Regions from separate parts of the Homo sapiens genome. Here region 2 is linked to region 1. The links are contacts of gene promoters, found by promoter capture Hi-C in human tissues and cell types (Jung and others, 2019). All regions are on one chromosome and are shown on one strand. The core of a region is centred on a gene start or on the middle of the fragment in contact, and the rest is flanking DNA. Distances in the headings are between cores, read along the strand shown.

Region 1 (7,369 bases), core at 1,406-3,905:
GTTGTACCAGAGAACACACAAACCACACCTCAAACTTTAGTTCATGCTAGAGAAATTTGAATTAACAAAGGAGAAAAAAAGAAAAGGAAAAATAGGAGAGGAAGAAACAAAGAAACACAATATGCGATTGCCTTAGCCCTCACCCTGAAACTCAGCACAAGAACAGACACTTCCTTGGCTCAGAGTAAAGATGGGTGTGGAGATTGTAGGTCACAACAATTGCTGGTCTGCTTCAACTTAAGGTAGGATAAGTCCCTGGAAATAACAAAAAGAGGAGGTTTCTCCCAGGGCTGTCACCCATGGCTCACAGTGCCCATAAGTTTTTCTTGCTTTAAAGCTCTAAACCTGTGTTGACTAATACAGTAGTTAGTAGTTGCATGCAGTTATTTAAAGTCAAAAGAATTCAATTAAATAAAAGTAAAAATCAGTTCCTCAGTTGCTCCAACCACATCTCAAGCACTCCCTAGATACATGTGGTTAGTGTCTATTATCTAGAACATTTCCCTCATCACAGAAAGTTTTACTGGACAGCACTGCTCTTGATTCCTGGTGCTCCCAGTATGATGGGAGTCATCCACCCATTGGAAATCAGGGACTAGCTGTAAGCAATGGCTCAGGAGCACTCAGTTGCACGAGGGCCTCAGGTGTGGGCATTGCCAGAGAGATGCCCAGCTCCAGGGCAGGAGTACTATGGAGAGTCCTTGGGGCGGGGGGGAGGGGGTGGGCAGGCGGGTAGGGCGGTGTGTGATGATGGTGCCCCCTCACCAATGTGGTCTCTGTCCCAGTTGGTGAATGGTGGCCCATCAAGTTTGTGGGCAGCCTGCATGGCTATCAGGCACAAATTCCAGAGCATATTTAAAGGCTGGCTGGTGTTTACTCTGGTTAAGATTGTAAGCAGGAGAAGTCAAAAAGAAGTTCTGAGTTTTGGCCGGGTGCGGTGGCTCAAGCCTGTAATCTCAGCACTTTGGGAGGCTGAGGTGGATGGATCACGAGGTCAGGAGATTGAGACCATCTTGGCTAACACGGTGAAACCCCGTCTCTACTAAAAATACAAAAAATTGGCCGGGCGTGGTGGCAGACACCTGTAGTCCCAGCTACTCGGGAGGCTGAGGCAGGAGAATGGCATCTACCCGGGAGGCAGAGCTTGCAGTGAGCAGAGATCACGCCACTGCACTCCAGCCTGGGCCTCAGAGTGACTCCGTCTCAAAAAAAAAAAAAAAAAAAAAAAAAAAAAAAAAAAGAAAATAAAAGAAAAAAAAAGTTCTGAGTTTCTTTTTTTTCCCCTTGATTAAATGATGTCTAAGGTCCCCTTTGGATGTAAAAGTCTATGATTCTTCCCAGCAGTTAAAAAAAAAAAAAATAGGTGAGTTGATTTTAAAGACTATTTTATAGCAGAAAGCAAAACAATCTGTTGGAGCAGAAAGCAAAGTAAGAAATTTTTCTCCTCACTGAGAAGGTTAATAAAAAGAAAATCCACTTCTTCATAGGGTCTGAAAACTATGTAACCTAAATTTTGTTTATACTCAAAGTATGTATATCTATAAAACCTAATGAGTTCTTTCCTGTTGTGCTTAGCAACTCAGGCAAGAAATGTTCAAGAAACGTTGTCTTTCATTAAAAGAAGACATTCAAGTTAACAAAACTTCTTTAAAAATTTATTTTTATTTTTTTTAGAGACAGGATCTCACTATGTTGCCCAGCCTGGACTAGAACTCCTGATCACGTGGCCTCAGCTTCCCGAATAGCTGGAACTGCAGGCATGTGCCACTGTGACTGGCTACGAATTCTTAAATGGCTTAAAAATCTTTAAAACTAGTTAGAAGTGGAGTTTTAGGTTTATAAACAAATGCAAACATAAAATAATACTAGCATTATTTGAAACTTAAATTTGTATTTTGTGTGAAAATGTGATCAGAATGAAAAATATCTTTATGTCCTGCAGATCATGGTGGAGCAAAGAATTGGTAAGGAGTAAAAACAAATTATGTAAAAATAACATTGCGTAGATAAAGCTACTTTGTTGACTTACTTCAACTGACACATTTATTAAGCAGAAGTGTTTGCAGAGAATAACTGGGAGTAAATTGCTTCACACATTTCATTACAGGTTGGCAGGACCAAATGATTTCTGACAAGAAGACCAAGAAACTTTCTCTCTGCTAGCCTGAACAGATTATTAAGAAATAACACGAGCTATTTCGTTAAACTTTCTATTGCTTTTCTGACTCCACAAGGAAATTGGGGGTCTACAAAGGTGACTGTCTATGTGCGATTTAATCAGGAGATATAGGGTTTCTCGGGGTGCTTGGATTTTCTTGTTCTTTCTGTGGGGATATCTGAGGTTGAAAGCAGGATGGCTGCGTAATATCTCCAGAAGTTTAATGAGAACAAGACTTATATCAAGGGTATTAAGAAAGCAATTCCAACGGTTCAAAGTAAAAGAGAACAGGACAGTCACAATACCCTAAATTACAAAGAAAAAAATGACAGACTTTATGAATCAAGAATCTAACTTCTTCCCCTTTCCCTCCCAGTCTGCTAGCTTCCCTCCCAGGAGAGCAACCCAGCCCTTGAGCCCGGGAGATTCCCTGCAGAGGGAAAGCGGTCTACTCACAGCGCCTCCTCTTTCTGCGCACACGGTAGGGCCCGCTCCGCAGTCTGCACCCGACCCAGGTGCTTTTCTACCCTCCTGCAATTCTTTGAACCTCCAGGACCAGGGAAGGGTAGTCTGTGATTGGCAGGAGGCACCTCACATGGGCTGAGCTTTCCGCTGCCTGCCCTGCCTCGCTGAGGCGGGGGAGTAACCGGAGGCTGTCAGTTGATTTCTGCTGCTTTGGAATGTGTGACTCTGACAGATGGAAGCACCTTGACAGCCACACTCATCGCTTTCCTGGATCCCTCCTAGGTTTGGGCTTTACTGGAATACAAACTCAGGGATTTTATTTTGATTTGATTTGATTTGATTTGTGTAATTTGATCCTTACTCCTGCTTTTGTGTGTTGAAGGCTTGTTAGTCCTGACCGCTCACAGCGATGCTGATATGTGCTTACCTGTGTAGGGCCATGTCCAGTTTTAGTTTCTATAATTTGCATATGCCAAATTCAGAGAGACAGTAATTGCCCAAGTAATGCTCATACTGTAGGTGGCCCAAAGACTGATAAGGAGCAAGAGATGTGGAAAGAAACAGATTGGGAAAAATTCACGGAGAGAGAGGGCTCAAGTGATTATCTGATGTCCAATTCTTCCCTCCCCTCTTCTTCCCTCCCTTTCTCTTCTCTTCCCTTCCCTTCTTTTTTCCTTCTTCCCTGACTTCTGGAGCCATCATGTGTTATACATGGCACCCAGAACATTATTTTAATGGCTGCATAACCTATCATGGTATACATGCGCCATCGCTTGTTTAACCTGAGTTAGGAATCGGTAACTGCAGTAATGTTAGAATTTACTGAGTGCTTTTACCAATAGACTTGGGAGTTCCTCAAAGGTCAGCATCATCTCTGTTGCAGGTTAGGTTGTTCAGGAGCAGACTTTGAGACAAAATTTAGTGTGCAATATATTTATTAGACAGTGCCCTGAGATTAACACCCATGGCAGGGAGAGGGGAGAAACAGGACTGGGCAGAGGAAGAAGTTGAGCTGCAATATAGATGGGACAGTCTTAAGCAGCCCTCCTCAGGAAACTCTGGAGGAAGATGGCCTGTCAGAGTAGCTCTGACACTGGGCTCCTCTATGATCTGCCCTTCAATGTGGATTACCCTGGGAAGGCAGCTTTCTGTAGCTGAGGCAAGTCCTGAAAGGGGCTGATAACTGGAGGCTGGAGGTTGCAAGTACTCCCAGCAGCAGGGCAACCTCCCACTTCAAGGGGGACTGCATGGAGCACCTCTGTGTCCATCACAAGGCCTTATTCCTCTGCAGCTCTTCAGGGCCTTGTTAGATAAATTATCATATTTCACACAATAGAATTCTGTGCAATGGTTAAAAATGACACCACAGATAAACATTTAATGGTATGGAAATAAGTTCAGTCATTTATTTGACAAATATTTATTGAAAACTTAGGATGTGCCAGGCACTCTTCTAGAGGCTGAAAATGAAAAAGCGGTTTACAAAATAGTTTGTGTAATCTGACACATTTTAATTTTTAAGAAAGTTTACCTATGACTTAAAAAGTTAGAAATAGTATACAGCAAACATTAACCAGAATATATCTGAATGGTAAAATATGGGTGACTTTTACAGTCTTCTATTTTTGCAGTTCATATGTTTACAAAGGATCTATATTATAATTATAAGAACGTACAAGTTATTAAAAACATGTGCTGTCCTGGAAATATTTGTGATAAAGTAGCAAGGAAGCAAACAAGGACATGTGAATTTTCATTCATGTCTTAGGCATTTTATGTTCCATTACCATGATTATATGGGGAGAAAACAAAAAGATTTGAAAATCTTCAAAATAGATAATGTGAACACAAACCCAATAACAAGAGACAAGAGACTAGCTAGGAAAAGGAAGATTAGTTTTCAGATAATAACTGCAACTGAATAGTTGAGGAACGTCAAGTCGTTAATGTATGACAGGCTTATTTTTTTCCAGTTAATTTATTTCTAACTCTCTTCTGCTAATCTTCCTTTCTCTCTGGCTAGGTGGCTCCCTTACCCACATCTTAACCTGATTCCAAGCTCATCAGTGAATTCTCATTACTAATATCTCACTTCTGTTAGAAACACTTAGATATTTTCTTCCTATCACCACAATTCAAACTACAGACTCCAGTAGTTTTGGGGAGAAGTTGAGGTCTTTAATAACCCCCCAACTCCCTGTGTATGTTCATTTGAGAGGGAAATGATGTCGTCCTGTGTGAGTGGCCAGAGAGAGGCTCTATCCCTTTCTGTTGGCCATCCCCACTGTCTAGTTCACCACCACCAGCAGCAGTGTAGACAAGGGCAGTGCACAGGGCTGGCCGAGGAGAGCCCTACTGAACCCCACGAGTTCCTAAGCCTCAGAGGGTGCTCTGCCTCATTCATTGGTTTGCAGTCAGTCTTTGTCCTTCAATCTCACCTACCCTCCAGGACCCCAGTTCTCAGGTGGCTGGGTTCTACCTTCTGCACATCTCAGGAACCTAGAACTAAAGGTGGCATGCTTGTCCCCTTCTCTGTCGGGCCATACCACTGCACCATCACCCTCCAAAGCTTTTCCTTCTCTGTGGTAGTTCCAAGGCAAGTTAGCAGGCCTGGTGACTCATGTGATATTTAACTGGGCTAGAAGAATTGGTCCTACATACACACTCAAACTTTTCAGTCCTCATGAGGTTTTCCTCTGTCATCTTCGGGGCAAGGAACCACTGGAATGTTTGTCTTCTCTGCATTCCCTAACAGATCCCTCACTTCAAATTGACTTTCCTATGGCGAGGTAGGGAGTTATAGTGCAAACTGGGTGAGAAAGAGGCTGCCTCCCTACTGGAAGTTCGGAAAGTGGGTTATTTAATGCCTTTTGCTTTCTCTAGTTACCAATTTCAGCAAAAACACTTCTCAAAACATGATGTTGTCTACAATATTTTTAATATATAGTAAAAGTCCCAGGTACTGCCAAATTTACTCTTCACAATATCCCTTTTTTTTATTATTATACTTTAAGTTTTAGGGTGCATGTGTACAACATGCAGGTTTGTTACATATGTATACATGTGCCATGTTGGTGTACTGCACCCATTAACTCGTCATTTAGCATTAGGTATATCTTCTAATGCTATCCCTCCCCCGTCCCCCCACCCCACAACAGTCCCTGGTGTGTGATGTTCCCCTTCCTGTGTCCATGAGTTCTCATTGTTCAATTCCCATCTATGAGTGAGAACATGCAGTGTTTGGTTTTTTGTCCTTGAGATAGTTTGCTGAGAATGATGGTTTCCAGCTTCATCCATTTCCCTGCAAAGGATATGAACTCATCATTTTTTCTGGCTGCATAGTATTCCACGGTGTATATGTGCCACATTTTCTTAATCCAGTCTATCGTTGGACATTTAGGTTGGTTCCAAGTCTTTATTATTGTGAATAGTGCCGCAATAAACATACGTGTGCATGTGTCTTTATAGCAGCATGATTTATAATCCTTTGGGTATATACCCAGTAATGGGATGGCTGGGTCAAATGGTATTTCTAGTTGTAGATCCCTGAGGAATCGCCACACTGACTTCCACAATGGTTGAACTAGTTTACAGTCCCACCAACAGTGTAAAAGTGTTCTTATTTCTCCACATCCTCTCCAGCACCTGTTGTTTCCTGACTTTTTAATGATTGCCATTCTAACTGGTGTGAGATGGTATCTCCTTGTGGTTTTGATTTGCATTTCTCTGATGGCCAGTGATGATGAGCATTTTTTCATGTGTTTTTTGGCTGCATAAATGTCTTCTTTTGGGAAGTGTCTGTTCATATCCTTCACCCACTTTTTGATGGGGTTGTTTGTTTTTTCCTTGTAAATTTGTTTGAGTTCATTGTAGATTCTGGATATTAGCCCTTTGTCAGATGAGTAGGTTGCAAAAATTGTCTCCCATTCTGTAGGTTGCCTGTTCACTCTGATGGTGGTTTCTTTTGCTGTGCAGAAGCTCTTGAATTTAATTAGATCCCATTTGTCAATTTTGGCTTTTGTTGCCATTGCTTTTGGTGTTTTAGACATGAAGTCCTTGCCCATGCCTATGTCCTGAATGGTATTGCCTAGGTTTTCTTCTAGGGTTTTTATGGTTTTAGGTCTAACATTTATGTCTTTAATCCATCTTGAATTAATTTTTCTGTAAGGTGTAAGGAAGGGATCCAGTTTCAGCTTTCTACATATGGCTAGCCAGTTTTCCCAGCACCGTTTATTAAATAGGGAATCCTTTCCCCATTGCTTGTTTTTCTCAGGTTTGTCAAAGATCAGATAGTTGTAGATATGCGGCGTTATTTCTGAGGGCTCTGTTCTGTTCCATTGATCTATATCTCTGTTTTGGTACCAGTACCATGCTGTTTTGGTTACTGTAGCCTTGTAGTATAGTTTGAAGTCAGATAGCGTGATGCCTCCAGCTTTGTCCTTTTGGCTTAGGATTGACTTGGCAATGCGGGCTCTTTTTTGGTTCCATATGAACTTTAAAGTAGTTTTTTCCAATTCTGTGAAGAAAGTCATTGGTAGCTTGATGGGGATGGCATTGAATCTATAAATTACCTTGGGCAGTATGGCCATTTTCATGATATTGATTCTTCCTACCCATGATCATGGAATGTTCTTCCAGTTGTTTGTATCCTCTTTTATTTCATTGAGCAGTGGTTTGTAGTTCTCCTTGAAGAGGTCCTTCATATCCCTTGTAAGTTGGATTTGTAGGTATTTTATTCTCTTTGAA
Region 2 (7,369 bases), core at 3,106-5,605, 42 kb after region 1:
AGTGTGTTTCTTATTGGCAACAGATCATTGGGTCATGTTTTTCTTTTTATTCATTCAGCCACTGTATGTCTTTTTTATTGAGGAGTTAAGTCCCTTTACATTCAACATTATTATTGATAAACAAGAACTGATTCCTGCTGTTTTGTTATTTATTTTCTGGTTGTTTTGTAGTCTTCTCTTCCTTCTTTCTTTCCTTTCTGTCTTCTTTTTTTCTTTTTAATTATTATACTTTAAGTACTAGGGTACATGTGCACAATGTGCAGGTTTGTTACATAGGTATACATGTGCCATGTTGGTTCGCTGCACCCATCAACTCGTCATTTACATTAGATATTTCTCCTAATGCTATCCCTACCCCAGCCCCCAAGCCCATGACAGGTGCTGGTGTGTGATGTTCCCTTCCCCGTGTCCAAGTGTTCTCATTGTTCAGTTCCCACCTATGAGTGAGAACATGTGGTGTTTGGTTTTCTGTCCTTGTGATAGTTTGCTTAGAATGATGGTTTCCATCTTCATCCATTTCCCTGCAAAGGACATGAACTCATTCTTCTTTATGGCTGCATAGTATTCCATGGTGTATATGTGCCACATTTTCTTAATCTAGTCTATTATCGGTGGACATTTGGGTTGGTTCCAAGTCTTTGCTATTGTGAATAGTGCTGCAGTAAACATACGTGTGCATGTGTCTTCATAGTAGCATGATTTATAATCCTTTGGGTATATACCCAGTAATGGGATGGCTGGGTCAAATGGTATTTCTAGTTCTAGATCCCTGAGGAATTGCCACACTGTCTTCCACAATGATTGAACTAATTTACACTCCCACCAACAGTATAAAAACGTTCCTATTTCTCCACATCCTCTCCAGCATCTGTTGTTTCCTGACTTTTTAATGATCACCATTCTAACCTGCGTGAGATGATATCTCATTGTGATTTTGATTTGCATTTCTCTGATGACCAGTGATGATGAGCATTTTTTCATGTGTCTGTTGGCTGCATAAATGTCTTCTTTTGCGAAGTGTCTGTTCATATCCTTTGCCCACTTTTTGATGGGGTTGTTTGTTTCTTTCTTGTAAATTTGTTTGAGTTTTTTGTAGATTCTGGATATTAGCCCTTTGTCAGATGGGTAGATTGCAAAAATTTTTTCCCATTCTGTAGGTTGCCTGTTCACACTGATGGTAGTTTCTTTTGCTGTGCAGAAGCTCTTTAGTTTAATTAGATCCCATTTGTCAATTTTGGCTTTTGTTGCCATTGCTTTTGGTGTTTTAGCCATGAAGTCCTTGCCCATGCCTATGTCCTGAACGGTATTGCCTAGGTTTTCTTCTAGGGTTTTTATGGTTTTAGATCTTACATTTAAGTCTTTAATCCGTCTTGAATTAATTTTTCTGTAAGGTGTAAGGAAGGGATCCAGTTTCAGCTTTCTACATATGGCTAGCTAGTTTTCCCAGCACCACTTTTAAATAGGGAATCATTTCCCCATTTCTTGTTTTTGTTAGGTTTGTCAAAGATCAGATGGTTGTAGATGTGTGGTGTTATTTCTGAGGCCTCTGTTCGGTTCTATTGGTATGTGTATCTGTTTTGGTCTGTGTATCTGTGTATGCTGTTGTGGTTACTGTAGCCTTGTAGTATAGTTTGAAGTCAGGTAGCGTGATGCCTCCAGCTTTGTTCTTTTTGCTTTGGATTGTCTTGGCTATGTGGACTCTTTTTTGGTTCCATATGAACTTTAGTTTTTTCCAATTCTGTGAAGAAAGTCATTTTGCTTGATGGGGATGGCATTAAATCTATAAATTACCTTGGGCAGTATGGCCATTTTCATGATGTTGATTCTTCCTATCTGTGAGCATGGAATGTTCTTTCATTTGTTTGTGTCCTCTTTTATTTCATTGAGCAGTGGTTTGTAGTTCTCCTTGAAGAGGTCCTTCACATCCCTTGTAAGTTGGATTCCTAGGTATTTTATTCTCTTTGTAGCAATTGTGAGTGGGAGTTCACTCATGATTTGGCTCTCTGTTTGTCTGTTATTGGTGTATAAGAATGCTTGTGATTTTTGCACATTGATTTTGTATACTGAGCTTTGCTGAAGTTGCTTATGAGCTTAAGGAGATTTTGGGCTGAGACGATGGGGTTTTCTAAATAGACAATCATGTCATCTGCAAACAGGGACCCTTTGACTTCCTCTTTTCCTAATTGAATACCCTTTATTTCTTTCTCCTGCCTGATTGCCTTGGCCAGAACTTCCAACACCATGTTGAAAAGGAGTGGTGAGAGAGGGCATCCTTGTCTTGTGGTGGTTTTCAAAGGGAATGCTTCCAGTTTTTGCCCATTCAGTATGATATTCGCTATGGGTTTGTCATAAATAGCTCTTATTATTTTGAGATGTGTTCCATCAATACCTAGTTTATTGAGAGTTTTTAGCATGAAGGGCTGTTGAGTTTTGTCAAAGGCCTTTTCTGCATCTGTTGAGATAATCATGTGGTTTTGGTTCTGTTTATGTGATGGATTACGTTTATTGATTGGCATATGTTGAATCAGCCTTGCATCCCAGGGGTGAAGCCAACTTGATCATGGTGGATAGACTTTTTGATGTGCTGCTGGATTCGGTTTGCCAGTATTTTATTGAAGATTTTCGCATCGATGTTAATTAGGGATATTGGTCTAAAATTCTCTTTTTGTTGTTGAGTCTCTTCCAGGCTTTTGTAGCAGGATGATGCTGGCCTCATAAAATGAGTTAGGGAGGATCCCCTCTTTTTCTATTGATTGGAATAGTTTCAGAAGGAATGGTACCAGCTCCTCTTTGTACCTCTTTTAGAATTTGGCTGTGAATCCGTCTGGTCCTGGACTTTTTTTGGTTGGTAGGCTATTAATTATTGCCTCAATTTCAGAACCTGTTATTGGTCTATTCAGAGATTCACCTTCTTCCTGGTTTATTCTTGAGAGGGTGCATGTGTCCAGGAATTTATCCATTTCTTCTAGATTTTCTAGTTTATTTGCATAGAGGTGTTTATAGTATTCTCTGAAGGTAGTTTGTATTTCTGTGGGATTGGTGGTAATATCCCCTTTATCATTTTTTATTGCACCCCTATTTGATTCTTCTCTCTTTTCTTCTTTACTAGTCTTGCTAGCGTTCTATCAATTTTGTTGATCTTTTCAAAAAACCAGCTCCTGGATTCATTGATTTTTTGAAGGGTTTTTTTGTGTCTCTATCTCTTTCAGTTCTGCTCTGATCTTAGTAATTTTTTACCTTTTGCTAGCTTTTGAATTTGTTTGCTCTTGCTTCTCTAGTTCTTTTAATTGTGATGTTATGGTGTTGATTTTAGATCTTTACTGCTTTCAGTTGTGGGCATTTAGTGCTATAAATTTCCTTCTACACACTGCTTTAAATGTGTCCCAGAGATTCTGGTATGTTATGTCGTTGTTCTCATTGGTTTCAAAGAACATCTTTATTTCTGCCTTTATTTTGTTATTTACCCAGTAGCCATTCAGGAGAAGGTTGTTCAGTTTCCATGTAGTTGTGTGGTTTTGAGTGAGTTTCTTAGTATTAAGTTTTAATTTGATTGTGCTGTGGTCTGAGAGATAGTTTGTTGTGATTTCCATTTTTTTACATTTGCTGAGGAGTGCTTTACTTCCAAGTATGTGGTCAATTTTAGAGTAAGTGTGATGTGCTGAGAAGAATGTATATTCTATTGATTTGGGGTGGAGAGTTCTGTAGATGTCTATTAGGTCTGCTTGGTGTAGAGCTGAGTTCAAGTCCTGGATATCCTTGTTAACCTGTCTCATTGATCTGTCTACTATTGACAGTGGGATGTTAAAGTCTCCCATTATTATTATGCGGGAGTCTAAGTCTTTTATAGGTCTCTAAGGACTTGCTTTATGAATCTGCGTGCTCCCATATTGGGTGCATATCTATTTAGGATAGTTAGCTCTTACTGTTGAATTGATCCCTTTAATATTACGCAATGGCCTTCTTTGTCCCTTTTCATCTTTGTTGGTTTAAAGTCTGTGTTATCAGAGACTAGGATCGCAACCCCTGCTTTTTTTTTTTTTTTTTTTTTTTTTTTTTGCTTTCTGTTTGCTTGGTAGACCTTCCTCCATCCCTTTATTTTGAGCCTATATGTGTCTCTGCATGTGAGATGGGTCTCCTGAATATAGCACACTGATGGGTCTTGACTCTTTATCCAATTTGCCAGTCTGTGTCTTTTAATTGGAGCATTTAGCCCATTTACATTTAAGGTTAATATTGTTATATGTGAATTTGATCCTGTCATTATGATGTCAGCTGGTTATTTTTTCCATTAATTGATACAGTTTCTTTATAGCATCGATGGTCTTTACAGTTTGGCATGTTTTTGCAGTGGCTGGTACTGGTCATTCCTTTCCATATTTAGTTCTTCCTTCAGGAGCTCTTGTAAGGTAGGCCTGGTGGTGACAAAATCTCTCAGCATTTGCTTGTCTGTAAAGGATTTTATTTCTCCTTCACTTATGAAGCTTAGTTTGGCTGGATATGAAATTCTGGGTTGAAAATTCTTTTCTTCAAGAGTGTTGAATATTGGCCCTCACTCTCTTCTGGCTTGTAGGGTTTTGGCCAAGAGATCTGCTGTTAGTCTGATGGGCTTCCCTTTGTAGGTAACCTGATCTTCCTCTCTGGCTGCCCTTAACCTTTTTCCCTTCATTTCAACCTTGGTGAATCTGACAATTATGTGTCTTGGGGTTAGTCTTCTTGAGGAGTATCTTTGTGGTGTTCTCTGTATTTCCTGAATTTGAATGTTGGCCTGCCTTGCTAGGTTGGGGAAGTTCTCCTAGATAATATCCTGAAGAGTGTTTTCTGACTTGGTTCCATTCTCCCCATCACTTTCAGGTCCACCAGTCAAACGTAGATTTGGTCTTTTCACATAGTCCCATATTTCTTGGAGGCTTTGTTCCCTTCTTTTTACTCTGTTTTCTCTAATCTTGTCTTCTCGCTATTTCATTAATTTGATCTTCAATCACTGATATCCTTTCTTCCACTTGAATGAATCTGCTGTGAAGCTTGTGTACGCATCATGAAGTTCTTGTGCCATGGTTTTCAGCTCTATCAGGTCATTTAAGGTCTTCTCTCCACTGTTTATTCTAGTACCCATTCATCTAACCTTTTTTTCAAGGTTTTTAGCTTCCTTGGGATGGGTTAGAACATCCTCCTTTAGCTCAGATAAATTTGTTATTTACTGATCTTCTGAACCCTACTTCTGTCAACTTGTCAAAGTCATTCTCTGTCCAGCTTTGTTCTGTTGCTGGCAAGGAGCTGCGATCCTTTGGAGGGGAAGAGGCGCTCTTGTGTTCAGAATTTTCAGGTTTTCTGCTCTGATTTCTCTCCATCTTTGTGGTTTTATCTACCTTTGGTCTTTGATGTTGGTGACCTACTGATGAGGTTTTGGTGAGGATTTTTTTGTTGTTGATGTTGATTCTATTCCTTTCTCTTTGTTTTCCTTTTAACAGTCAGATCCCTCAGCTGCAGGTCTGTTGGAGTTTGCTGGGGGTCCACTCCAGGCCGTTCGCCTGGATATTACCAGTGTAGGCTGCAGAACAGCAAATATTGCAGAACAGCAAATATTGCTTCCTGATCCTTCCTCTGGAAGCTTCGTCCCAGAGGGGCACCTGCCTGTATGAGGTGTCTTTTGGCCCCTACTGGGAGGTGTCTCTGAGTTAGGCTACATGTGGGTCAGGGACCCACTTCAGGAGGCAGTCTGTCTGGAGAATCACTGCTCTCTTCAGAGCTGTCAGACAGGGACGTTTAAGTCTGCAGAAGTTGTCTGCTGCCTTTTGTTCAGTTATGCCCTGCCCACAGAGGTGGTGTCTACAGAGGCAGTAGGTCTTGCTGAGCTGTGGTGGGTTCTGCCCAGTTCGAGCTTCCTGACCACTTTGTTTACCTACTCAAGCCTCAGTAATGTGGATGCCCCTCCCCCCGCCAGGCTGCAGCCTTGCAATTCCATCTCAGACTGCTGCGCTAGCAGTGAGCAAGGCTCTGTGGGCATGAGACCTGCCGAGCCAGGCACAGGAGAGAATCTCCTGGTCTGCTCGTTGCTAAGACCATGGGAAAAGTGCAGTATTTGGGCAAGAGTGTACCGATTTTCCAGGTACAGTCTATCATGGATTCCCTTGGCTAGGAAAGGGAAATCTCCCAACCCTTTGCACTTTCTGGGTGAGGCAATGCCCTGCCCTGCTTTGGCTCACCCTCTGTGGGCTGCACCCATTCTCCAACCAGTCCCAGTGAGACGAACCAGGTATCTCAGTTGGAAATGCAGAAATCACCTATCTTCTGCATCAATCATTCTGGGAGCTGCAGACTGGAGCTGTTCCTATTCGGCCATCTTGGAACAGAAACCAGACCTTTCTGTCTTCTTTTTAGTGAAGGTGATTTTCTCTGGTGGTATGATTTAATTTCTTGCTTTAATTTTTTTAATTAAAAAAAATTTTTTTTAAGACAGAGTCTTGGTCTGTTGCCCATACTGGAGTGCAGTGGTGTGATCATGGCTTACTGCAGCGTCGACCTCCTGGACTCAAGCAATCCTCTCACCTCAGCTCCCTGAGTAGCTGGGCCTACAGGCATTTGCCACCACACCTGGCTAATTTTTAAATTCTTTTCAGAGACAGTGTCTCACTATATTTTCCAAGCTGGTCTGGAACTCCTGGGCTCAAATGATCCACCTATCTTGGCCTCCCAAATCATTGAGATTACAGGTATGAGCCATTGTACATGGTTGCTTTTTATTTTTTGTGTATCCATTGTATGTTTTTTGATTTGAGGTTACCATGAGGCTTGCAAATACTATCTTATAATCAGTTATTTTAAGTTTATAGCAACTTAACACTGTTTGAATAAGAAAACAAACAAAAACTAATAAAATCTCTACACCTTAACTTCATCCCCCTGCTTTTTAACTTTTTGTTGTTTCTATTTATATCTTATAGTACTATTTTTTGAAAAATTATTATTTTCAAATGGCTCATATTTTAGTAATGATTTTTGATTTGTTCATCTTTTAGTCTTTCTACATAAGAGTAGTTTACATACCCCAGTTATAGTGTTATAATATTCTGTGTATTTTTCCGTGTACTTACTATCACCAGTGAATTTTATACCTTTAGATGATTTATTTTTCTTTATTTCTTCTAAAAAAGAAACGGGATACATGTATACATGTATGCAGAACGGGCTGGTTTGGTACATAGGTATACGTGTGCCATGGTGGTTTGCTGCACCTATTGACTCATCCTCTAAGTTCTCTCCCCTCACCCCCACCCCACAACAGGCCCTGGTGTTGTTGTTCCCCTCTCTGTGTCCATGTTTTCTCAATGTTCACCTCCCACTTACGAGTGAGAATATGCGGTGTTTGGTT

What was found. The method cuts DNA at HindIII sites, captures the fragments that hold promoters and counts their contacts. A contact is called where the count stands out against the background at its distance.
Region 2: a fragment that was not itself captured here is called in contact with the fragment with the promoter of UPK1B in region 1 in 1 of the 25 tissues and cell types used here (pancreas).

Annotation. Positions count from the first base shown.
Region 1 is chr3:119,168,884-119,176,252 of GRCh38, reverse strand. UPK1B (uroplakin 1B) reads right to left here and starts at 2,655. Exons shown (of 8, transcript NM_006952.4): 1 at 2,615-2,655. The HindIII fragment of the contact is 12,321 bases long and covers 1-6,588 here.
Region 2 is chr3:119,129,066-119,136,434 of GRCh38, reverse strand. It overlaps a transcript of IGSF11 not described here. Among named protein-coding and RNA genes, the nearest start is that of TEX55, 13 kb to the left of the region's middle. The HindIII fragment of the contact is 5,527 bases long and covers 1,592-7,118 here.